Regions from separate parts of the Homo sapiens genome. Here regions 1, 2, 3, 5, 6 and 7 are each linked to region 4. Evidence: promoter capture Hi-C in 16 types of primary human blood cells and fetal thymus (Javierre and others, 2016). All regions are on one chromosome and are shown on one strand. The core of a region is centred on a gene start or on the middle of the fragment in contact, and the rest is flanking DNA. Distances in the headings are between cores, read along the strand shown. Region 1 overlaps METTL4 (methyltransferase 4, N6-adenosine). Region 2 overlaps DLGAP1 (DLG associated protein 1). Region 3 overlaps METTL4 (methyltransferase 4, N6-adenosine). Region 4 holds the start of MYL12B (myosin light chain 12B). Region 5 holds the start of DLGAP1-AS4 (DLGAP1 antisense RNA 4). Region 6 overlaps NDC80 (NDC80 kinetochore complex component). Region 7 overlaps DLGAP1 (DLG associated protein 1).

Evidence for each region. The method cuts DNA at HindIII sites, captures the fragments that hold promoters and counts their contacts. A CHiCAGO score of 5 or more calls a contact.
Region 1: a contact is called between a fragment that was not itself captured here and the fragment with the promoter of MYL12B in region 4, in 1 of 17 cell types (neutrophils). The highest score is 5.1, in neutrophils.
Region 2: a contact is called between a fragment that was not itself captured here and the fragment with the promoter of MYL12B in region 4, in 3 of 17 cell types (erythroblasts, megakaryocytes and M1 macrophages). The highest score is 12.3, in erythroblasts.
Region 3: a contact is called between a fragment that was not itself captured here and the fragment with the promoter of MYL12B in region 4, in 1 of 17 cell types (neutrophils). The highest score is 5.2, in neutrophils.
Region 5: a fragment that was not itself captured here is called in contact with the fragment with the promoter of MYL12B in region 4 in 1 of 17 cell types (erythroblasts); the score reaches 5.3 in erythroblasts.
Region 6: a contact is called between a fragment that was not itself captured here and the fragment with the promoter of MYL12B in region 4, in 1 of 17 cell types (fetal thymus). The highest score is 6.0, in fetal thymus.
Region 7: a fragment that was not itself captured here is called in contact with the fragment with the promoter of MYL12B in region 4 in 1 of 17 cell types (erythroblasts); the score reaches 5.9 in erythroblasts.

What each region holds. Positions count from the first base shown.
Region 1 is chr18:2,559,526-2,562,253 of GRCh38, reverse strand. The region is part of intron 3 of METTL4 (methyltransferase 4, N6-adenosine); the gene reads left to right. Among named protein-coding and RNA genes, the nearest start is that of METTL4, 11 kb to the left of the region's middle. The HindIII fragment of the contact is 4,359 bases long and covers 1-2,728 here.
Region 2 is chr18:3,991,158-3,993,857 of GRCh38, reverse strand. All of the region lies in intron 3 of DLGAP1 (DLG associated protein 1), which reads left to right. It overlaps DLGAP1-AS4 (DLGAP1 antisense RNA 4), which reads right to left. Exons shown (of 5, transcript NR_102696.1): 2 at 656-767. Among named protein-coding and RNA genes, the nearest start is that of DLGAP1-AS4, 30 kb to the right of the region's middle. The HindIII fragment of the contact is 2,341 bases long and covers 89-2,429 here.
Region 3 is chr18:2,540,610-2,543,324 of GRCh38, reverse strand. The region is part of intron 8 of METTL4 (methyltransferase 4, N6-adenosine); the gene reads left to right. Among named protein-coding and RNA genes, the nearest start is that of METTL4, 30 kb to the left of the region's middle. The HindIII fragment of the contact is 8,684 bases long and covers 1-2,715 here.
Region 4 is chr18:3,260,776-3,263,475 of GRCh38, reverse strand. It overlaps MYL12B (myosin light chain 12B), which reads right to left and starts at 1,343. Exons shown (of 4, transcript NM_033546.4): 1 at 1,239-1,343. It overlaps MYL12-AS1 (MYL12A and MYL12B antisense RNA 1), which reads left to right and starts at 1,117. Exons shown (of 4, transcript NR_130145.1): 1 at 1,117-1,423; 2 at 2,146-2,204. RefSeq lists a silencer at 798-1,687 and an enhancer at 1,898-1,947. The HindIII fragment of the contact is 3,443 bases long and covers 1-2,700 here.
Region 5 is chr18:3,961,803-3,964,502 of GRCh38, reverse strand. All of the region lies in intron 3 of DLGAP1 (DLG associated protein 1), which reads left to right. DLGAP1-AS4 (DLGAP1 antisense RNA 4) reads right to left here and starts at 2,150. Exons shown (of 5, transcript NR_102696.1): 1 at 2,073-2,150. The HindIII fragment of the contact is 6,261 bases long and covers 1-2,700 here.
Region 6 is chr18:2,586,971-2,589,670 of GRCh38, reverse strand. NDC80 (NDC80 kinetochore complex component) reads right to left here. Exons shown (of 17, transcript NM_006101.3): 8 at 1,748-1,841; 9 at 361-467. Among named protein-coding and RNA genes, the nearest start is that of NDC80, 17 kb to the right of the region's middle. RefSeq lists an enhancer at 1-537. The HindIII fragment of the contact is 1,652 bases long and covers 490-2,141 here.
Region 7 is chr18:3,921,826-3,924,525 of GRCh38, reverse strand. All of the region lies in intron 3 of DLGAP1 (DLG associated protein 1), which reads left to right. Among named protein-coding and RNA genes, the nearest start is that of MIR6718, 38 kb to the right of the region's middle. The HindIII fragment of the contact is 2,077 bases long and covers 229-2,305 here.

The DNA.
Region 1 (2,728 bases), core at 131-2,630, 700 kb after region 4:
CTACAGGCATGTGCCACCACGCTCAGCTAATTTTTTATTTTTTTGTAGAGATAAGGTCTTAACTATGTTGCCCAGGCTGGTCTTGAACTCCTGGGCTCAAGCAGTCCTCCTGCCTTGGCCTCCCAAAGTGCTGGGAATACAGACAAGAGCCACTGTATGCAGCCCCTGCCCCCCTTTTTTTTAATCATAGCCATTTTGACGGATATAAAGTGGTATCTTATTGTGGTTTTCGTAAACACATTGGGTTTTAAATGTTCTGAAGACAGCTGAATACACAAATGTTAAATCCCTCAATGTGAGCAGTTTATCTGTTAATTTTGGAAATACACTTATTTTCTGGAAATGACACTTGCAAGGTTAACTGCAGAAATACCAGGAAAATCCAGGGTATTTATATCTATAAAAAAATTAATAAGATTTACTTTCACTTTAAAGTTTACATGAAATTAGAGAATAGAATTTCTTGAATTCATGTATATTCTAATTGCTAAATACTTGTATTAATCATAAATACAAATTATGAAATGTGCTGCAGAATGGAATCAAACTCTTAAAAAGTAGTAGGACAGAATATTTGCTGAATCAGATTTAGAGGTTTGACTATCCGGTAGTGCCAGTCCTGCCCATCCCCATCCTTTTCTCATCACTCCTCTTTTTAATAAATTTGTTTTCTTTCCCCATATAAATTTTAGGATCAATGATAACATCTAGTTAGAAAACCTGTTGCCATTTTTATGGCATCAAGTTAAATTTCTAAATTAAATTAGGGCAGTGTTGACATCTTTAAGATGTTGGTGATTCCGCCCCAAAACATGAATGTATTTTTCCATTTGCTCACGTTTTGTTTTGTCGTTGTGTAAAATTTTCTTTATAAAGGCCTTGCAGGTTTCTTGTTAAGTTGTAGTAATTTTTTGTTGTTGTATCTCTTGGATTTTCCAGATATAGAACTCTTTCAAATAGTAGTAATTTTACTTATACCTTTCCAATTATCATGTTTCTGATTTCTTCTCTAATTCTGTAGGGTGGAAATTATAATACAATATTAAAGAATATTTGTGTGCATAATAAACATAAGTAATATATGTGAGCATATTTACTTTGTCTTGTGCTTGACAAGGGGGATAATTTCATCATTAAGCATAATACTGGGTTTCAACTGAGTTGGAAATAACATGTTAGGCATATATGGAGATTGAACAGATTTTTTTTTTCTTTTTTAAAAATTTTTTTCCATGAACCTATTGATCCTATTGAAGGAGACTGAATAGATTTTTCCTATGATTCTTCCTCAATTAACCATCCTTGCATTTGCAGAATATATTCCAAATGATCATGATGTTACTATTTTTAAAATGTTCTACTGGATTTTCTTTTTTGAGACAGAGTCTCGCTCTGTCGCCCAGGCTGGAGTGCAGTGGCCCATCTCCGCTCACTGCAAACTCTGCCTCCTGGGTTCATGCCATTCTCTTGCCTCAGCCTCCCGAGTAGCTGGGATTACAGGCGCCCGCCACTACGCCCAGCTAATTTTTTGTATTTTTTTAGTAGACACGGGGTTTCACTGTGTTAGCCAGGATGATCTCAATCTCCTGACCTCATGATCTGCCCGCCTCGGCCTCCCAAAGTGCTGGAATTATAGGCGTGAGCCACTGCGCCCGGCCTCTACTGGATTTTATTTGCTAATGTTTTATTTGGGACAGTCATAAGAGAGATTGGTCTGATATATTTACTTCTTCGGCCTTATATATAATTATATATGTAAATATGTAGGATGTTTGCACGCTGGAGAACTTATTAGCCCTCTCGTGTTGGAAGCTAGAAGTTTTCCTTCTTTTTACTTTCCAATTTTCTGGAGCAATAGAAAAATAATTGGGATAATTTGTTCTTTAAAAGTTTGATAAAGTTTGATAGAACCCCCACTTTGTAACCATCTCAGTGTGTTGCTTTTTGTGGTGGATACTTTTTTGGCAACTTTACTTTTTTCCTCTTTTCTTTTTTCTTTATTTATTGATAGAAGAATTTAATGATGAGACTTTTTCTCTGGGCACAGCTTTAGCAACATCATGTACGTTCCGATGTGTTGTGTTTTAATTGTCATGGGGGAAGGTTTTTAGTAACAAAATCAGGTTTTTTAATAGAGAACCGGATTTTCAGGTTTTTTGTTTCTATTGATGTCAGTTTTCACAAGTTTTATTTTCTAAGAAATGTGTTCATTTCAGGCTGGACATGGTGGTTCATGCCTGTAATCACAGCACTATGGGGAGGCCGAGGTGGGCAGATCACTTGATGTTAGGAATTGGAGACCAGTCTGGCCAACATGGTGAAATCCCATTTCTACTAAAAATATAAAAAAATTAGCCAGGTGTGGTTGTGGGCACCTATAACCCCAGCTACTTGGGACGCTGAGGGAGGAGAATTGTTGGAACCTGGGAGGTGGAGGTTGCGGTAAGCCGAGATCATGCCACTCCATTCTAGCCTGGGTGACAGAGAGACTCCCTCTCGAAAAAATAAAAAACAAAAAACAGAAATGTGTTCATTTCATCCTAGTTGTCAAATTTGTTAGCATGAAGTCATGTTATCTTATGCTTTCTTTTAATGTCTGTAGGATCTGTGGTGATGATAACTTTTTCATTGCTTTTATTAGTAATTTGTGGTTTTTTTAAATAGGTAAAATATACGTATCATAAAATTTACTGTTTTAACCATTTTTAGATGTACAATTTAGTGGCAC
Region 2 (2,700 bases), core at 10-2,509, 730 kb before region 4:
CGCTATGATAAGCTTTTAAGTGGGTCTTAAGCCCACTTAAAAGATGCTGCACCCTGATTTTGTTGCTGCACCCTGATTTGGGGAAGCTTGGTCAGTGATCCCATGAGAAGGGAAACTATGAGAGATTCATTCTCTCCTGAATCGCTTAGGAGGTCCCATTAAAGCCCCTGCTAAACTCGTCATCCCCAGTCTGGACCACGTTTGGTTAATTTCCAGTTTTTCCTTTCCTTGCAATAACCTGCTTGAAACTCCACCAGGGAAAATAAATAATAATTCAAATGCAAAACGCGTTGTCACTTTTATAAAATATTGCTCTCCTTGCCCCACCCTCACCCCCTCCCTTTCTCCCCTTCATGATTTTTACTGAAAGGAGGAAAGACAAGGAAATCTCAATGGTTTCATTCTTAGCACACATTCTAAGTCTGTCATTAAATGACCGCTGATTTTGTCACATACATATGGACAAAACTCTGTAAGAAAGCAATTGATTAAAATCAATGAGAATTTGCTGCGCTGAAATGGAATCAGTGAATAAAAATTTATTCTGTTTCTTTTCTTTTTTCTAAGAGTCCTCTCCATTATTCAAAAGAAGCCTGTCTTATCCTGTTTCCAAACTCCTTTTCCTTTTCTTTCCCCTATGCTGTTGATTTCCTACCTTCTTCCCACGTGAGTCGCCGGTGCAAGAGGGGGGTTCCTGCTTGGGTACCCACATCAGTAGGTTTTGTCTCCTCATCTGCTTGTCTTCTGAAGATAAATCGTTGGCAGAACTGAAAAAAAAAAATCATGGAATGGCTTTTTTACATTTCTGCCAGGGGGAGGCTATTTTGTAATCTTTTTGCAGCCTTCCTGTGCACAACCCAATCCCAAGCTGACTTGATTATCTCCTTAACTGTTAAGAGCAAAATTTAAAACTGGATTTTGTTACCTGCCCCAGGAGCAGATGCTACATTGCTGAGGTGTCTTGTGAATTGCCAGCGTTCCTTTTCTTTTACAGACAGGTCTTAAAGGTCTTCCAGGGACCCCCTATTAGCCAAATAACCTTGATAGTTATTACAGAGAAATTGTAATTCTTTTTGAAAGTATTTGTACACTCATCCATGCCAATATTTATAGATCAGTTGATTTTTCCAGGTTGTGTAAGTTGCTAACAATGGAACTCCATTTATTTATTTATTTATTTAGAGACAGGGTCTGGCTCTGTCACCAGGCTGGAGTACAGTGGCATAATCACGGCTCACTGCAGCCTCTGCCTCTCAGGCTCAAGTGATCCTCCCGCCTTAGCCTCCCAGTTAGCTGAGACCACAGTTGTGCACCACCACACCTGGCTAATTTTTGTAATTTTTGTAGAAAACAGATTTCACCATGTTGCTCAGGCTGGTCTGGAACTCCTGGACTCAAGCATTCCACCCGCCTCAGCCTCCCAAAGTGTTGGGATTACAGGCGTAAACCACCGTACCCAGCTGAGACTCCATTTAAATAGGTGGCTTTTATGTGAATTATTAATTTTGATAAAGAGAAGAGAAAAGCTGATAGATCAGTGTTTAAAAATCATTTTATGAACTAAGTTCAAAAGAACAACTAGGGCCTGCAGACTTCCCTACTTTACAAAGTAGTGGCCTGGCCAAGGATGTTCCAAACAAGAAATCTTTTCAAACGTGCTTTAAATCATTAAAATAGGGGACCAATATGAGTAAACCAATATAATGAGGCAAACTAAGTAGGAGATTTTTAATGAACATTTTCAAGGCACAGGGAAAGAAGCCACAAAGAGTAACAGCATTTTTCTGCACATACTGTCTTATGAATCTAGATTCATCTTGTTTATTGTGGAACTATGTGATTGGGTTAGCCATCAGGGGAGAGAAGTACTTTATGATGTAAAAGCTGAGTCTCCAGAGATAAAAATCTCTTCAATTTGTCATTTTTCAAAATATCACAAAGAATCCATGTTTCCGTGGTCTTCGATAAAGAAAGCGTGTCAAGGCAAGATATACACAAAAAAATAAATCAAAGTGGTTAGTTACAATGGGATAAGCAACAGCTACACTGAAAAATTCTATATGTAATGCAGTTTTCTTTTTGTGTGGAAAAGAGTAGGACAAGATATGAGATTCCTGGTCTGGAGAGTGGGTGAGATATTAACATATTAAAGCAGGAATGTCTGAAACATGCATTGTGTATTTTCCACTGTCTCAGCCCAAATCAGGCATAGCTCTGGGGAGAAGGGAGAAGGGCAATACCAACCAGAAAGTATCTCTGTGATTCTTCAGGCTGCTTGGGCAGTCAGCCTCCAGAAGAGACCCCACTCAAATCTGGGTCATCCAGGCACACTGGCCACTCACCACCTCTGCGGTGTTATTTCAAGGATGCTAACCCCAAGGTTCCCACCACTGCCACTGGCCAATATCTGAAATTCCCCTGACAAAGCTTCCTCATTAGCATAAGGTTTGGACTCCTGAAATGAACCAACCATGTCTCTTAAACTTTTCCTTGAACTCTATCCCCCCACCGGAAATACAGAGAGATGAGTAAATACAAATATATAAGAATTCTATTTAATTCTAATCATTTCAATATTTACTGAAAAAGTCTGAGCAAGACATCAGTAAAAAACTATAAAATCTCAGAATGGGCTTGTGCTTTAGAGATACAGGAAATGAGGTCTTTTGTTTTTTGTTTTTTTATATTAATATTTACTTT
Region 3 (2,715 bases), core at 38-2,537, 720 kb after region 4:
TTCTACCAACAAAAAACTGCTACAAGTTACCACTCAGGAAAACTACAGGAGCTTATGTTACCTTGCAGAATATGAGGCAGTTTATGACCTGGGAAATGGAGAAAGTGAATACAAATTCCTAGAGAATTTTTATTGCTAGCACTTAGGATTTCTGTTATCTTAAATAGTTTATGGAGAAGGGTCCTTTTTTAATTTTTTTTTTTTTTTTTTTGAGATGGAGTCTCACTCTGTCACATACAGTGGCCTGATCTTGGGTCACTGCATCCTCTACCTCCTGGGTTCAAGTGATTCTCCTGCCTCAGCCTCCTGAGTGGCTGGGCCTACAGATGTGTGCCACCATGCCTAATTTTTATATTTTTAGTAGAGACGGGGTTTCGCCATGTTGGCCAGGCTGGTCTCAAACTCCTGACCTCAAGTGATCCGCCCGCCTCGGCCTCCCAAAGTGCTGGGATTACAGGCATGAGCCACCGCACCCAGCCTCTAGAAGGGTGTTTATAGTATTACTTCATTTGAGACATATACAGATGTCTACCTGATAATCCATTCTTTGACTAAGAAGGATTCTCAGTGAATAATCGATTGCCTTATGCTTCGGACTGTCATAGACCTTTAATGCTTTAATATATAACTCAAGTGAAAGTGAGATTGCATTGTTCCTCATGAAAAAAAAATTATACTTGGCACTAGTAATACCTGATTATATATGTATATGTATTCCTCTCATTTGAATTTTATTTATCACTTGGTAACAAAGCTAGTGTTTGTCTCAAACCTTATTTTTTTCTTTTAAAAATTCAAAAGCTAAGACCATAAACTTTTCATTCTGAAATGATAGTAAACTATTTGTCAATTCCTTTAAAATAAAATAAAGTTATATTTAAAGATGAGCCTCAGGAGACAGGTTTTAAAATAGTGAATAAACAGGAAGGGGAACATCACACTCTGGGGACTGTTGTGGGGTGGGGGGAGGGGGGAGGGATAGCATTGGGAGATATACCTAATGCTAGACGACGAGTTAGTGGGTGCAGCGCACCAGCATGGCACATGTATACATATGTAACTAACCTGCACAATGTGCACATGTACCCTAAAACTTAAAGTATAATAATAAAAGAAAAAAAAAATGAGTCTTGCCCTAAAGCATTACAGCTTATATCTTTGAAATGCAGTTCTTCCTCATTCCCAGTAGAGAGCAGCACAAACACATTTTTAGCATTGAAAACATTTAAAGACAAAAGTTAGATTCTGGAGGAAACATCTGAATAACTCCATATATATATAAAATCTTATGTTTTGGTTAAGTAGTGATAGGAAATATTGTAATATTTTATTTTTGAGTTCATGTTACTGTATATATTTTTAGTATAGTTCATGTTTCTATATATTTCAGAAAGCATCTCTCAGATTTCTGCAGTATATTTTACCCTGAAATCATAACTCTAGGGGTTTGGGATGATATATATTCTGTATATAATGCTTACAGCTTTTACATTTAAATATTCTTAAACTGTTTTATGCAAATTAATAAAATGAAATGTTTTCTCTTTTGTATTTAGAAACACCCTGATTTTTTTTTTTTAAGTTTAATTGGTTATTTCTGTTGCAAAATGTAGGAGACCACATTGGTAGCATATGGCATTTCAAAATGATACATTTGCATAAGTTTTGAAATTTTCTCCGATTGAAAGATAAGCTATCAATAGCTATGGTTTACAACCTAACATTATAAAGTGATATTGTTTGAAGATTTAAGGTAGGAAAATCATGAAATAAAGTATTTAAATCAAAATTTTAGCTTTCACATTTTACCTTAGAGGAATTTCCACTTCTTTTTACTGCTTTACATACTAACAGTTTCCATCTGAAGAGTGAAGTTTAGTTGATGGGATTATATGCACTGATGTTTGGGCCACTTCTCTCTTACTCCTGCCCCATGCTTTCAGAGCAAAAACGAAATGACTAGCTGTGCACAGATTGCATCCGCTCCATTAGTTAAAGTGTGTTTTACTAACTCCAGATGTTATGTAATTGTTGAAGTTTATGTGTCATACTCATGTTTAAATTTATACATTCACATTTATTTTTAAATTAATATTTAAAAACCAGAATAATCCATTTTTATTAATTTGCCTTTATTTCTTCTCCCTTATTTTGAAATAAAATAATTGTAGTTAACATTATAAAAACACAACTTAATATTCTGTTTTTCTTAACTAGAAAGGAAAAGAACCATGCAAAAACTTACTACATTGAGAAAATAGGATGGCAGTAAATGGGTTTAGGTTGTATGTATTTTTCCACTCCATCCAAGTACCTGGCCATTATTTTCCATTAGATTGTAAACTCTCATAAAACATGGATATTCTGCTTCCTTTGTTTAAGTTTTATAACACTGATTATAGTGGGTGCTCAGAAGAGGAAACATTTTTGACTGGCTGACTCCAGTTTAAATTTCTAAAATAGGGTTGCTAACATCTTCGTACCAAAAATCTGAACAAATGAAACAAAAACAAACAAAACCTTTCTTCAGCGTAACCTGAGACCACATTAAAGTGAACTGAGGCTGGTGAGGCGTTAAATTCATGGGAAGAAAATGGAAAAGTTCTTCCATGTGGGGTTATTTCCTCCAAGACTCTAGGGAAATCTTTCTCTTTCAAGGTTAGTAGCATTTAATTTATGCACTTAGGAAAGGGTTAGAAGCCTTCGTGCCAGTAT
Region 4 (2,700 bases), core at 94-2,593:
AAAGCACTCAAAAGTGCTCTTAGTTATAAAGTCCAGGAGGGTCCACCACCTTCGACAAATTACCTCACCTCTCTGGGTTTCACTTTCCTCAGTTATAAAACGCAAAGCCTTCACAAGGTAATCTATCAGGTCCTACTGAATTCTAAATGCTTTGATTCTTCTCTTACCAAAAGACCATTCCAAATCTACCTTAAACTAAAGCGGCCAAACGAATCCTCTAAACATCCCTTTCTTATTACTCCGTTAGTGAAGACTCCAAAATTACTCTCTATGGCTTCTTAGATAATCTTTTCTTTCTCCTAAGTTTTCAAGACATCCATAAGAAGGTCCTACTTACCTATCTACCCTTATTTCCGACTATTAGTCATTACAGTTCTGTTCCATACCCGCCGGTGTCCCCACGGCCTGCTTTTCACAGGACACAATTCCCAGCTTTTGAGTTTTGCTCGTTACCACCTCCCACACATCTAGCCGGAAACGCTAAGTTCTCCCTCTTAAGGTTGAATCCAAGGCCTTCAGTGAGGTCACGACTCTTTTCCAAGTAACCTTTCCCTATTTCTGTTAATGGTCCTTTCTTCAATCAACACGAATAAACTAAACCTTTACAAGATGCAAGACACACTGAGCGAATTACAACTCTATGTAAATCATCACATTTGAGCCCGTATCAACCACACACTCGGTTACCGGCATGCTAATGGCTTCCTTGGAGGCTTCACCTTAGGCAAGACCGTGCAACAGGAGGCTCCTCCACCCTCCAAAGCATCTAGGATAGTGTTGGGCACAGGGCAGGTGCTCCACACGAACACGCCCGGGTCGGCCCCAATCCACCGCCAGGACCCGCCGCGGCGCCGGGAGGGCAGGCGTTGGCCGCCGGGCAGCCGGGCCGTCCAAGGCCCAGGTGTCTGAGGTCACCCAGGTGGCGCAGGGCCGGCCCACGCACGGCCGGGACCCGGCCACTTCTCCAGCAGGGCGTCTCCCCATACCGGCTCCATCGCCTGCAGCCTCCCGGCCCCTGGACGTCCGGGCCAGGGCCTCGCCACCAACCCTCCTCCCGCCGCCAACCCTCCTCCCTCCACCTCCGGCCCCGCGCCCCCTTCTCAGCCAGTCTGACAGGTCCTGCCGCCGCCTGGCCGCCCTGGGGCGGGGTCCGGCCGCAGGCGCGCGACGGGAGGGGGCGCGGGGGTACGGAGACGGCGGCCCGAGGGGTCTCGCGAGCAGAGTCGAGCGCGACTCACCCGACGCCAAACACCAGAACCGGGGCCGCCCTGCGCGAGACCACAAACGACAGCGAAGAGCGTTAGGCTGTGGCCGGACAGTGGCGGCGCCGACACTTCCTGCCTGAAGGGGCGGAGCGGAAGGCGCACCGGAAGGCGCACCGGAAGGCGCACCGGAAGGCGCGGCGGGACCAAGTGGAACGGGGGTGCGCTGAGTGTTCGCGCCCGGGCCGGCGGGGTCTGCGTGTCCGCCGAGCGGCGGGGCTGCTGAGGCCGGACGCACACGGCCGGGGTCTTAATTGCCCCTCCGGCCTGCTCCGATCCGCTGCGATATCGCGGCCTGCGCTGCGGCGGTCGTCCGCAGCCCGGCCCTCGTCCCCCGCTCCTTTGGTAGCTCCGCCACCCTTCCGCATTCCTGGGCCCGCTGGGCGCGGCTGGGCAGGCCGCTGGAATTTGACCCGAGTGGGCCGCGATCGGCCGAGGATTTGGGGTCCCCTTTGACCCAGGCGGGGCGCGATCCGCCTAGGATTTGGGGTCCCCTGGCGCCGAACCCTGAGTTGCCAGATGTAGCAAGTAAAAGTACAGTTCTTCTAAATTTGAATTTCAGACAAGACAGGTTTTAGGGTTCGTCTCATGTAATGTTGAGAAGGTGAGGGCGGCGCCTGGGCGGATTCTTCTCCGTTCCAGAATCCCTTTCTCTTTTCAAACCGCATTACAGCCCGAGTTAAATTCTTTAACCTACTCCTCTCTGCTTACCCTCATAAGGTTTACGGCCGTATCAGGCTACGGCCGCAGCCTACGGCTGTTTGATTCCCCTTTTGGCCACAAGAAAGTTTTATTCGAACTACTTGCTTTCCTTTATCAAGAAAATGGCAACGCACACACATACATGCACACACAAATAAAAACACAAAGCTACGTTTTTCAGGTTTTGTTCTAGATCGTGTTTGTGGCTGTGTTCTTCAGGATATTTTCCCTCACCTTGAGGTAATCTAGCATTACTTCATCTAGCATTACTAAAATAGCATTACTTCAGGATGGTGGAGGATCGGCAATCTAATAGCAAATCTTTATTGAACTCTTCTTACTGCCTTAACATGTGCCGGATGCTGAGAGATGAATTCAAAGCCTCTTAGGGAGTTTATATTCTAGAAATCTTTGATCAGAAATTCCTAGAAGAGAGGGACCTTGTGTTCAGCACTCTGTAGCAGTTCTTAAACAGTAGCACGCATAATAACAGGGCTTTTAAAAACATTTTTGAGCCTCAAAACCGGGTATCAGGATTCAGTGAGTAAGGGGTGGAGGATAATTCGAATTTCTGGTAAGCACACATGATGCTGATGGGGTGGTCGCCATCCCAGCAGCACAGCTCTAAACGCGGTTCATAACTGTGTGTATTTTCTCAATAGTGTTAGAAAAGCAATTGCTGAAAAGTCACACCTGGTTCTACAATATTTACTCTTAGGTTTTGGTTCGATAGTCT
Region 5 (2,700 bases), core at 180-2,679, 700 kb before region 4:
ACTCTGTCATCTATTTATTGAACATGTGGACAGTCCAGGAACATCTCAAACACTGCAAATGCAAAACCAAACTCGTTGTCTTCTCACCACCTCTGCCGTATTCACGCAGACTCTTTTCTCCTTCTACAGCTTCCCAGTTCACATCATTAACAGGACAACTATTGGCCCATTTTCCCAAGGTGGAAACATTGAATTTTTTCCTGGGCCTTTTTCTGCCTTTCCACTAATGATAAATAGATCCCTAAATCACATAAATTCTGCCAAAGAAATTTACCTCTGGTGTTCTTCCTGTCTGCACTGCCCCTTTTTTAAAGAGTGTAAATTATCTTACACTTTTGTGTTTTATGCTGAGATTTGAGAATAAATAGGGAGTGTGTATACATATCCAGCTCATCATCTTAACCCACTCCTCCTAATTTTATCTTAGGAATGACGCCTCCTGCAGTGTAGAACAATAGAAATATAACCCAAGCCACGTATACGATTTTAAATTTTCCAGTAGCAACATTATAGAAATAAAAAGAAAGAAATGAAATGAACTTTAATGCTATGTTTAAGCCAATGCATCCAAAATATTAAAATTTCAAACTTTAATTGGTATTTACATTATTCTTAAGGGCTTTACCTTCCTTTTTCTTTGTACAAAGTCTTCGAAATCTAGGGCTCAATGGTCACATGTGGCCAGTGGCTGTCACAGCAGATAGCCTAGGTGTTGGACGTGAGCTGAAGGGGCTTACACTAGAGATCCCATAGAAGATACACCTACAGCCTTGGTGAGGGACAAGGGCATATATCAAGGTACTTGCAATGGAAACAAAGAATCAATCCATAATCACACTGAAAATATGAAGCAGAGAACCAGAAGGCAAATGTAATCCAATTAAGTATAAAATTGCACTAAAAAAAAAAAAAAAAAAAACAGCCCAAAGTACACAGAAGAGAATGGAGCTTCAAAGGTAAAGGATAAAAACAAACCACAGCCCAGGAGAGAAGCTCAGAGACAAACTGTACAAGAAAGGGACCTGGGGCAAATGTGTCAGTAATTAGGAGGTGGTCTTGGAAGAGCAGGGTAGCCTGGGCACCTCATCCTCATGCACATTTGAGTCCAGGCAGCTGCACACTTTCCTTCAGCCTCACAAGGCCCAGCAACTGTGCTCTCAACAAAGGAAAAGCTCTTCTGCTGGTTTATATTTATGAGAAGCAGAGTAGAACCCTGGGGGGTGAGGGGGGCAATGAAATGGAGCCTTTGGAGCTGGAACTGGCCCAGCTTCAGGTGAAGCCTCCAAGTGGGTATTCTGAAGTGAGGACTGTAACAAGAGAGGCCAAGAAGGCTATGTTCCAGTTAAGGAAAAATCCCCTCTGGCACCCCCAAAGCAAAGCAGTCTCCCCCATCCTGCTCTCCCCACAATTATAGAAGGCAGACAGAAGAGATCAAGATGCACATGAATAGAAAACAGCACTTCTCATTTGGATTGAGGAAATTTTCAGTCTTCAACCAGTCCTTCAACATGAGCATGAATAGATAACTGAGAATCACCAAACTTTGAAAGAACACCAACACCTACAAGAAGCATCAAATCAACAAACTGAAGAACTAACTCACCCCAAGGAGACCTTGTCAACAGAAAAAAAAGCAAAGACAATTTTCAGATAAGCATAATAACCAAAGAAATGTAATCATTTTGTCCTCAAATATTCAATAAAATAAGACCAAGCCACTCTTTTTAAAACTCCTGGGAGATACACGCTGTCAGTCCAAAGCAAAATGCATACAACTAAAGAATAAATGTCCTGGAAGGATTCCTAAAAATATCATGAAAACAAGCATAGGGATGGAAAGAATGGGAAGAGTGATGTAGGAATGATGGATAGAGCCAAACCTCAAACGTCTATCAAATAGGAATTTCAGAAGAAAAGAACAAAAAATGGAAGAGGGAAAATACTGACCAAATTAAAAGAAAATTTCCCTGAAGTACACAGCTTGGTAAATGTTCAGAATATTTACATATAAATAAATATATGAATATATAAAGGTTCCAGGCTGCAGGGAGAAGTGAACACAGATTACTTACAAGGGAATGAGGAGCAGGTAGGATGAGATGTTTCATCGCAATTCATTCTACACACCAGCAGTCATTGGATCAATTCTCCCAAGTGCTCAGGGAAAATGAATACTAGTTTGTTACCAGTTCAAACTCAAATTTAATGTGAAGAAACGATGAGTGATTGGACAAAGTTTACCCGATGACGTCCTTTCTGAAAGAATAACTAGGGAATTTATTTCAGCAAATGAATCCAAAAAAGAAGGACTGCAGATATTAAAAGTGGTAGCAAACAAAAATTCTTACCACTGAGACGTAACTGCCTGATTGTGCATCATATATATTTTTTTAATCTCAAGCAAAAATTCCCAGATCTTTTTGAGAATCAATATCCTAAGGTAATATCTTCTACTGTCTTGTACCAAAGAAAGATCAAAGTGTTGCCCATGACCTGTTAATACACGGCGAAGGGATCCTTTACTGTATGTGACTCAGAGTCCAAGAACCTGGTCAATCATGTTAGCATCCTGCATCCAGTCCTCCCTGAAACCTGAGCAACCCAAGCCACTGTCCTGTGCCCTGTGTCAGAAGACCCCTCTGTGGCTTTCCTCTGTCCATGCCCCTCACAGCAGCATGATGAGTCTGCAGGCCCCCAAGC
Region 6 (2,700 bases), core at 66-2,565, 670 kb after region 4:
ATTTATTAACCATTCCTTTTGCACTACCTCCAAAACTCAGGGCTTCTTGTGACTAATGCTCCCTAGAGGTATATAACACAGGGCCTTTGTTCAAAAGTACTTTTGATCTTATGTAAGTAGGTAAGAATCTTTCATCATATCCAGAGCACCATTAGTCTAAGACTGATAGACCGCAAGGGAAAACAAGGCTCCACAGATACCAAACATGTTTTCATTGGGAGTTTCTAGGTGAAAATTTAACTTTTAAGAAGCTTAATTTGTTAATCTATTTTTTAAAATTTTGATAAAGACAGCTAATATCCAAGGACACCCAAAAGTCTAAAAGAGCTCTCAAGTAAGTGTGTAAACATGTTTACTAACCGGTTCTTTTTCTCTTTCTTGTTCCAATCTTGCAATCTGTTCATTCAATGCTCTGTTTTTTGCTTCTAATGATTCCAGCTTAAAAGCATCCACATTAAATAAATCCTCTGGAGACAAAATCCAAAAGCTTTTTAAGACCTCAAATCCGCCTAGAACATTCTTTCCCAAGTTTTCACCATTACTCCCTCCCTCACTTCCTTCTGGTCTCTGCCCAAAACACTATTAGTGAAGTACATCCCATCCTTGTAAAACAGCAAACCCTTTCCATTACTCCACCGTACTTCGACTCTCCTTGTCCTGCTTGATTTTTCTCCAAAGCGCTTATCACCATTTGACTTAAAGTTGCTCATTTCATTATTTTCCTCTTTCTGTCTACTAAAATGTAAGCTCATAAGGGCAGAGGTTTTTATCCTATTCATTACTGTATCCTCAGTGCCTAAATGGTGGCTGGCACATAGTAGGTATACAAAAAATATTTATTTGAATAAATGAATGCAGTTTTTATGCTTGGTTAATTATATACAGAAATATCAAATTACTCATTAGATGCTTAGATCACTCTAAATTTTCCTCTCTTAAAACAAAGCCATTTATTTTGCTCCCTTTCCCATGTGAACAAGCTGAAATTGTCCTGGTTACTCTTCAGGAAGATACAATCCCAGGGGACTATAAGGGAATGCTTTCAGCTTTTGTGATAATACTGGCAAAGTGATTGATTCCATTGTTGGAGGAATAGCTTCACCTCCATTTATCTATTTTACCTTCCATTTTGGCATTTTATATACAAGACTATTTCAATAGAAAGAATGAAAATGTAAAATAATACCTCTGGAATGTTTTAGAGTTATCTAGTAAATACTGTATGTCACTAGGTTGTAAATGAGTAAAAAAAAAAAAAGATTTTCCTTACATATTTGGAAGTATAATGTCTTGTTAACTTTTTGCCACAAATTTTGAAAGAGACCTTAGGTCTTTTGACTAATTGGTGCTTTAATTTCTCAAATAGTAAGCAAGGACAACGTAGGGATATTATCCCCCAAGAGGAATAGCATTTGCTAATTATTGTCTATGCTTCTGGTAGCATGTTTGGTATATTATGACTTTATTATACTGTCATCTACTGCTGCTACACTTTGTCAGGAGGTCAAGTATTTTATTAAGGCGCCACAGACAGTAAGATGTTATGGCTCAGGTCTGGCTCCAACACTAGTATTCTTTTTGTTTAACTTCTCTCCACCAAAGAAACCACAAAGATAAAAATCAGTAGGCATCCAGATACATTTAAAGTAAGTAGCTCATATGAACACTGGATATGGTAAATAAATTACCACTCCATGAGCAGAGTGAAATGACCAAAAGCAAGCACCCTAAGAACGAGAACACTTACTCAGTTTTGACTGCAGCTCTGCATTCATCTCATCAAAGCTGTCGGCACCACTCATAAAACTCTCATAGCATTTTATGGTGTAGTCCAAAAACAACTATGGGGTTAAGCAGATTTTAGAAACAAAGTTATGATTCTCTATTTGGTCTGTTTCACTTTTCTAGGTGGAAATTTATATTTGAATTTAAAAAATAGTCAGAAATACTAAGTAGTCAGATGAACCTATAAATAAGAGACAAAAACCTAGGCTATATAATTATGCTATATGGACTTATTTAGTCTGCTACTTCTAAATATGAATAATGAGGATAAAATAACACTTAAATTTGGATAAAGGCAATATTTAAAAACAGCCATACCTTCAGAATTTTGAGAAGGTCAAACAAACAGGGAAGCTTATTAATAAATGTAATTCAACATAAAATGCACAAACTTAATCATCTTTAGGAATAAAGCACCTGATGAAAAATTTAAATAAACTGCTGATCATCTAAGTCCAATTGAATTGATAAGGTCTAATTGTAAAAACCCAAATGTAATTAATGAAGGCTACAATTACATTGTAACTTCAGGCTAAAAAATGAATTGCATGATGAGTAGCAATCTAAACAGTACAATACTAGAATTCTTAACATTTATCCAAGAGAAAATAACACTATATTTTGCATTCATGAGATGTTTTGGTCACTGAGAATGTAGACTTTATGAGAAGGCAAGAATGGATGATCAGAATTTTCCATACCTTAGATGAAGTAAATATCCCTCAAGACAAACCAATTCCCTTTGTGCTAATTCATTGCTTATTAAGGTGACCTTGAAGTGAGTACCCTGAATAGGCAGTCTGAGTATTCCTGTAACTGGAAAGGTGTATCACTGATGGTAAATTAATACATTTTCATTCTCCTTCAGATCAGTTGCTGTGAATTTGGTTAAGACTGAATCAGTTTCCTTAAGCT
Region 7 (2,700 bases), core at 18-2,517, 660 kb before region 4:
CAAAACTTGAGATTTGTGTATGCTAATGGCATTGACTTAGTAAACTGCTTTGTGGAGAAAATGTTGGCATCTTGAAAGAGAAGGAAAACATAAACAGAAAATCTAGGGAGCTTCATGAGAGAATAGGGTGGCAGTGGGGGAGGAAGTGGAGGGTGTGGACCTAGGGCACCACACCTGGGAGAGTGTAGTGGAACTGGTTTTGTTTTCTGAACTGTTCAACCAAAAGCTTTTTATATTTCCCCATGGTTTTCCAGGCAACTGATTGAGGAGGGTATATGCAAGATGATAAATGGGCTTTTCACTTCTTTCCACTGGGGCAGCAGTGATTCTATGGCGATGTAGCTAATATGACGTGAGAGAGTCGGTTGCTTTCTAGCCTCTGCCAGGCTCACTATTTCTGTAATAGTGACACTCCATGAAATAGTTATTTCTGTGACATCACTGACACTTTTAAACAACAGATAGAGGAAAGATGTGAAGGTTCCATGTCTCTACATGTGGCTGAACTCTCAAATGTGGTTAGAGAATCATGTTTTCTCCAGTGCATTTGAGCTGAACAGTAAGCAGGATTGCTTGGTGAGTCGTCATTAGATAGTGACTCAACACCAGCACCATCTCCTTTAAGATACTGGTTTTGTCTCTAACTTAGATGCCACGACTTTGATGTAATTTTATGATTCTCCTTTCTAAAAGTGAATCAGCAATATGATAAAAATTTATTCAAAAATGTGTTAATACCAAAACAACAGGATTACTGTTTTAGTACAGAGGAATGTAAGGGACTTTGGTTATACTTCCAGATAGCAAGAGTGACACACGATAGAAATTGGTATCACCAAAGATTAAGGAATCATCTTTGGAATTTAAAAAATGGAAACTAAAGTGATGTTTTTTTAAACTCAAAGTTGGGAAAACTTTTATAAACACGATGTAAACCAGATTTTGAAGTAAAATATTTATAAATTTGGCTACATAAAAACAACAAACAAGTTAAAAAAGACATTAAACTGGAAAAATATCTGTAAAACTTGACTGACAAAGCAATAATTTCCCATAAAGCCAATGAATTTTTACAAATAAAAATTTTAATTTAATGAAAAAGAGCAGAAGTTATAAACAAAAAGTTTACAGAAGAAATACAAAAACGGCAAATAAACATGTGAAAAGTTGTTCAGTCTTATTTATAATAATGTGAAAATTAAAACAAGACATCATTTTTTAAAAATCAAATAAGATACTGATTTCATCCAAAAGATATTTAAGAGTTTATTATACCCAGGACTGGTAAGACTGGAGAAGACCCTGTTCTTCTCCAATGAACACTATTCAATGAACAGTATGAACACTGTTAGTGGGAGCAAAATTAGTGCTTTTTTTTTTTTTTTTTTTTTTGAGACAGGTTCTCTCTCTGTCGCCCAGGCTGGAATGCAGTGGTACAGTCTTGGCTCACTGCAACCTCCGCCTCCTGGGTTCAAGTGATCCTCTCACTTCAGCCTCCCGAGTAGCTGGGACCACAGGCGTGCGCCACCACGCCCAGCTAATTTTTATATTTTTGGTAGAGATGAGGTTTTTACCATGTTGGCTGGGCTGGTCTCAGACTCCTGACCTCAAGAGATCCTCCCCGCTCAGCCTCCCAAAGTGCTGGGATCACAGGAACGAACCACGACACTCGGCCTAGTGCATGCTTTTTGAAAATAAATTTGACAGTATTTATTAAATCTGAAGCTACCTAAATCCTTTTACCCAGAAGTAACTCCATTTGTAGTAATTTACTTCATGGAAATGGATATATATGAAAATAACTGAGAGATGACTTCAAATAGCACAAAGCTAGAAACAAAAAACATTCCTCCATAAAGGGCCAGTTAAATAAATCCTGATCAAGCCAGAAGGTAAAATAATATGCAGCTATTAAAAGGAATTATTTTGAACCTCTTTTTGATGATTTGCAATATGTCCAAGATCATGTAGTATTAAGTGAAGAAAACAAGTTGTAGATTATTTTGTGCATGACACAAAAGAAAAACCGTTAACAATGGGGAATGGAATCCAAAGATTGTAGCTTTATTTTTCCTTTATCCCTAGAGAGTAATACATGAGCATTTCATCTTAAACACGCACAAATGACAATGCTATTACTGAGGAATTCTTCTCCAGGGGTAAAGACTTCATATCCCTAGTGCCTGGCTTAATGCCGGGCACCTCTCCTTTTCATTCATTGTCAAGATCCTAAAAATAATTGTCAAACCTGTTTTTCCTCACTTATTTTCTTTTAATTTATTATTTATTTAACTAAAACGAAGCTTTTTTGGACCCTTAACTGCAGCAAAACTGCTCAGATAAAGGAACTCAGCAATCTCCCAATTGTCAAATTAAATGTTCTTTTTTGGTCTTGATCTCACATTTCCTATTTGTGGCATTTGCTACTGATGACCACTTGCCTCATTTTAACCTGCTGCCTTCCCAATTCCCTGTCTCCTGCAGGAGCCCTTCTGCCTCTTGCTTTAAATGTTGGCATCCCCTCAGGTCTGAGGCGGCAACTGTCCTGCTCTCATGCTATAATTTTCCAAATCTAGATCTCTCAATAGAGCACTCTTCCTGAACTCCAGAACCTCATATCTAACTGTGTGCTGGTCGTCTCCTGCTGGGTCTCACAGCCACCTGACGTTCATCAAGTTTAAAGCTGATATTAGCACAGTT